Regions from separate parts of the Homo sapiens genome. Here region 1 is linked to region 2. Evidence: promoter capture Hi-C in human tissues and cell types (Jung and others, 2019). All regions are on one chromosome and are shown on one strand. Each heading gives the region's core, a stretch centred on a gene start or on the middle of the fragment in contact. The rest is flanking DNA. Distances are from core to core; before and after follow the strand shown.

Region 1 (2,700 bases), core at 152-2,651, 160 kb before region 2:
CACTGTATACACACTTACTGGTACTTGTATTTCTATGAGATAAATTCCTAGGTGAGGTAAAGCTTTAACACGTTACTAGACTGTTTTCCCTAAATGCTGTAGCAATTTATTGTTAAGCATGTATTCCCAGTCTTTGCATCTCTTCAAGATATTTTATCACTCTAACTTCATGTATATTGACCAGCTAGATTTTCTGTTATGATCTGTCTTTTCATATCCTTTGTCCATTTTCTATTTTATTGTTTGTTCCCTACTTGATAATCTGTAAGTACAGTTTCTGATACATTATTAAATTGAATATGTTGAGACATTAAGGAAGAATTTCTTAAACAAGTCATAAAACATACAAATTATAAAGAAAAATATATCTTTTGCTACATTAAAATTTAAAGTTTTTGCTCAATGAAAGGCACCACAACAAACTTAAATGAATAAGAAAAAGACAATCCAACAGAAAAAATAAGAATATGCATAGGAAATTTGCCAAAAAGAAAACTTAAATGACCAATAGAACAAATATAAAATAAGATACTTAAAAATCAAGGAAAATGCAAATTTAACTGATGAACTACCATTTCACACACATCAGATTGGCAAGTTTTTTTTGTTTTTTGTTTTTTCTTCTTAACACAAGATCTTGTTCTGTCACCCAGGCTAGAGTGTACTCGTGTAATCAAAGCTCACTATACCCTTGGACTCCTGGGCTCAGGCAATCCTTCTACCTCAGCCTCCTGAGTAGCTAGGACTACATGTGTGCACCATCATTCCTGGCTAATTTTTTAAATTTTTTTTTGTAGAGTCGGGGTCTTGCTCTGTTGCCCAGGCTGGTCCCAAACTCTTGGCCTCAAGCGATCCTCTTGCCTCTGCTTTCCAAAATGCTAGGATTACAGGATTACAGATGTGAGCCCCAGTGTCTGGCCCAGATTGGCAAAATTTAAAAATTTGACAATATATAGTTTTAACAAAGATGTGGAGAAACAGGCCCTCTTATATACTGCTGGTGGGAAAGTATATTAGTACCACAGTTTTGGAGATGAACTAGGCAAAATCTAGTAAAGCTGAGAATGTCCATACCCTAAAAACTCAGAAATTCCATTTCTTGGTATATACCGTAGGGAAACTTTTGTATCTATGTAAAAAGGAGACAAAATAATGCCCATAACGGGAGTATTTGTCACAGCAAAAAACTGAAAACATCCTAATTGTCTATCAACAGGAGAATAAATAAATTGTGGTTTAATCATCATGAAATACTATACAATGTTTAAAACATGAATGAACTACAGCAACACTTATCAACACAGATAAACCTAAAAACAACACTGAAATGAAAAGGCAAGCTGCAGTGTAATACATTCAATATGTATCTTGTTACATAATGTTTAAAGACCCCTATATAATGTTGATGGATATTTAATATATGAAATATAAAGGAACGCACAAGAATGAAAAAAGTAAATTAAGCAAAGTAATTATTGCTAGGGAAGGAGAAAGGATAATGGGGGAAACCCCTTCTCTACTAAAAAAAAAAAAAAAAAAAAAACAGCTGGGAGTGGTGGGACATGCCTGTCCTCCCAGCTGGGAGTGGTGGGACATGCCTGTCCTCCCAGCTACTCAAGAGGCTGAGGCACAAGAACTGCTTGAACCCAGGAGGCAGAGGTTGCAGTGAGTGGAGATCATGCCACTAAACCCCAGCCTGGGTGACAGAGTAAGACTCTGTCTCAAACAACAACAACAAAATGATAATAATACAGGGGCCTCCATATTATTTTATATATTTAAAAGAAATTTGAGGTGTGGTGGCTCACACCTGTAATCCCAACACTTTGGGAGTCTGAGGTGGGTGGATCACTTGAGCCCAGGAGTTTGAGACCAGCCTGGATAACATGGTGAAACCCCATCTCTACTAGAAATACAAAAATTAGCTGGGCGTGGCTGTGTGCACTTGTAATCCCAGTTACTTGGAAGGCTGAGGCTGAATCACTTGAACCCAGGAGGCAGAGGAAGTTGCAGTGAGCCGAGATTGCACCACTGCACTCCAGCCTGGGCAACAGAGACTATTCGGAAAAAAAAAAAAAAGATAAAATTATTTTTTAAAAAGAATATTTACATAAAATTCAGTTACATGGAATGGTGAAAAATAAATTCTAATTTCTAAAAATAAATCCAAATGTGGAGAATAGTTTGTGCTTTTAGAAAGATGATACACTACTTGCTATGAGGATATGGAATATATTTTGCCATAAGGTACCAAGAAACAACTTTGCTTGCATTATAATCATGGTGCTTAAGGCCATTTAAATTTCTAAGAAGTAACACAAAATTCTACTAATTAAAAACAAAACAGAAAGCGAAAAACATTCTAAGACTGCTTTGATGGAGAAATGGGAATATATCTTATCTAAATACTCATTTTCTATATCAATCCTACACAGCTTTAAAAAACTAGATAAAACAATAATGCAATATTTAAGAAACATTATCTTTAAACATAATTTTTGGTTTTCATTTGAGAAAGCAGAAAGACATGTTCATAAATGCTGAAATATGAAGCTAGTTTTAAACTAATAAAAAATAATATAAGCATGTTTTTAAATTACTTACCACAATTACTGATTTTGCTTGCTCACAATACTGAAAATCTCCATATCGAACAGACCTACGCCCCTGTAAAGATATTTAAAATTAAGCTGTAAAAGT
Region 2 (2,717 bases), core at 111-2,610:
CCCCCGCAGAGGAGGAGGAGGAGACAGCGCGAGGGAGCGACTCCGGGCTCGGGTTTCCGCACCAATGCCGAGCAGCCCCGGGCGGCCCCCGGTGGCCGTCCCTCCTCCCCGGCACCACGTTCCACAGTCATGGCGCGCGAGGAGGGGCGAGCGCGCGCGGCGGCTGCACCCGCGCCCCCTCTCCTCCCCTCCCCTCCGCCGCCCGGCCCCTCTCCTAGGCAACCCCCCTCCCCGGCCTGCTGCGCCTGCCGCGGCAAGGGAGACCCCTCCCCAGAGAGCTGCTCTTCCAGCGCGGTCTACTGCACCCCTTCCCCGCCCCCATCGGGGCGGAGGGATGGAGACGCGCGCTTCGCGAACCTCCAGCCCCTTCTCCGGAGCCCCAGCCCTCTCCCAGCCCCACCGAGGCCAGGGTGCGGTGGGGGTAGGCGCGGACCGTCTCCTCGCAGCCCGCCTCGACCTCGGCATCTTTGCAAACACTTAGAAAAATAAACAAACCCCCTCACAAACCCCAGTCGTTAGCTTGCAAAGCGTGTTACAATAACCGGGACGGCTACGCAGGAAGCAATCCTGCACTGGTCCGGGTTTAAGGCGGCAGCTTCCCGGCCACGCTGCCTTCTCCCCGGCCTCGATTTTCCGGCCATGCCGGAGGGTCCGCTGCACCTCAGGGCTGACAGGTCCCGCTCGCGCAGGGCCGCAACTGGGCCCGTGTCCCCCGTCCCATCCTCGTCCAGAGACTCGCCAGCCTACAAAAGGTGCAACCTCACGCACACGCAAAGCGCACAAATAAAGTCAGCAGCGCACCGCCGCGAAGGCTGCGAACAATGCGCCGGGCGGCCCGCGCCCGCCGTAGCGCTGCGCCCCGGGGGAAAGGGGACGCGGGCGGGGGCCGAGGCGGACGACCAGCCGGTCGCGGCGCTGGACACCTTACTTCCTGCTTCCCCGCCCGCGGCCAGACCCAGCTCTGCGGAGGGATATCTCCCCTCCTCGGTCCCTCTCCCTCCCTTCCCCCTCCCTTCCCCCGCCCTCCCCCTCTTTTTGCTCCTGCTCCCCCCCCCCACCCCGCCTTTCTCCTTTTGCAAGAAAATAATTTGACAGTCGATTTGCTGACAAGGGAGGAATTTGCATCCTGGATTTAAAAAAAAAAAAAAGGCCGAGAGGAGCTTGGGAACGGTTGCTAGGGGTGGGTAATGGGTGAAAAAAGGGGGGTACCGGGGAGCGGATAAGGAGGGTTAAGGGAGGGGGCGAGGATGGGGAGCAATGCAAAGGTAAGGCCAGGTTACCGCGGCTCGGCCCCGAGTGGGCTGCGACCGGGGGAGGGGCGAGAGATACATATGTATTTCTGTCTCCCCAGCACACCCCCTTCCCTCTAAGCGATGGCTGAGAGGCGGTGCATGCAGATGGGGAGTAAGTTTCCTGAAGGGGAGGGTGGATGCACGCGCGCAGCCCGGCGCTGCAAATTTCCACTGGGGAGGGAGAACGGCTGGATGCGGAGAGTTTGGAGTTGCTTGCGGCGGAGGGCAGGAAGGGGAGCAGGGCTGGGAAAGGGGGCTGGCGGGCGCTATATCTGGGAGTAAGTTTCCAGCATCAGGAGAGCCTGCACGCTTGCTCACTAGTAAGTTTCTGGCCGGGGAGGGCGCATGGGGAGGAGGAGAGGGAGGGGTGCATGTATATAGAAGGGGGGAGGGGGGAGCAGATTTCCTGCGGGGAGGCTGAATGCATATGGAGAGTAGATTTCCTGAAGGGAGGGTGGAGGCGTAGACGGACCGAGTAAGTTTCTTGCTGGGGTGGTGGAGGAGGTGGTGGGTTGGTGCTTTGGAAACCCAAAGCTTCCTACCCTGGGTGGGGGAGCACACTCTTGTCGGGGGGACGAGGGGCCAGGTTCCCTGCTGGGGAGAGGGGCTTGCATCTGGGGAGTATGTTTCCTGGCGGAGCGATATTTGTTTACAGGCTGAGGGCAGTACAGTAAGTGAGTAGCGCTGAGAGAAGGCGGCTGACATAAATTAATATTGAAATTACTCCATCAGCTCTGCTCGCCCCCCATCTCACCCCCCAAGCGGATACTGGTCTTCTCGTCGGATTGCCCATGCACTTGTTGCAGAAACAGCCAAGGTAGGCAAGAAGCTTATTAAGTTTCATTTTTAAAAAATTAGTTTGGGGATGCTCCTCGAGAAGACGGGGGTGGGGCGAAGTGGGGAGGGAAGAGTGGGGAGACAGAAGGAGAAGTCTCCCCCCCCTTTACTTTCACTATGCAAGCAGGCCTTCTCCCTTCTTCCCTTCTTCCCTCTCCGGGCTGCACAGCATCCCAGCAAAGGGGGAGGGATGAGGTGGGCGCTATAATTGGCAACCCTGGCTTAAAGGTAGTGATGGTGGGCTTGCATTTGAGGTTGTGATGTTATAAAGGCTTCATTCTCCAGCTAAGAAACCGCAGGACTCTGCCTTTTGGGGTTTTTGACATGATACATATGTGTATGTATACGCGCCTGCGGGCTCTGTGGGGGCTGGGTACTCCCCAGAAGTTAGTGTGGCCACCCAGATGGGAGAAATGTGTAAGGGGGTAAACCTGTTCCTTCACTCCCCAACTTCAGTTTGGGAGACTGGGAAGTTACTGCCGGTGGTCTTAAGAAACAGATATTAAAAACCAACCAAACCACTCCTTCACCAGCGGAGGCCGAGAGCACCTGGCAGGCAGCCTCTGGCCAGCACTGGACTGGAGCATG

What was found. Contacts are between HindIII fragments. The study calls those that stand out against the background at their distance.
Region 1: a contact is called between a fragment that was not itself captured here and the fragment with the promoter of TRERF1 in region 2, in 1 of the 25 tissues and cell types used here (bladder).

The regions. Positions count from the first base shown.
Region 1 is chr6:42,606,556-42,609,255 of GRCh38, reverse strand. UBR2 (ubiquitin protein ligase E3 component n-recognin 2) reads right to left here. Exons shown (of 47, transcript NM_001363705.2): 7 at 2,605-2,667. Among named protein-coding and RNA genes, the nearest start is that of UBR2, 44 kb to the right of the region's middle. The HindIII fragment of the contact is 7,960 bases long and covers 1-2,700 here.
Region 2 is chr6:42,450,569-42,453,285 of GRCh38, reverse strand. It overlaps TRERF1 (transcriptional regulating factor 1), which reads left to right and starts at 1,360. Exons shown (of 18, transcript NM_001395490.1): 1 at 1,360-1,612; 2 at 2,025-2,109. LOC124900214 (arf-GAP with GTPase, ANK repeat and PH domain-containing protein 2-like) reads right to left here and starts at 926. Exons shown (of 4, transcript XM_047419627.1): 1 at 1-926. The coding sequence starts at 465. LOC107986596 (a long non-coding RNA gene) reads right to left here and starts at 926. Exons shown (of 5, transcript NR_171668.1): 1 at 661-926. RefSeq lists silencers at 1-345, 816-895. The HindIII fragment of the contact is 3,351 bases long and covers 1-2,717 here.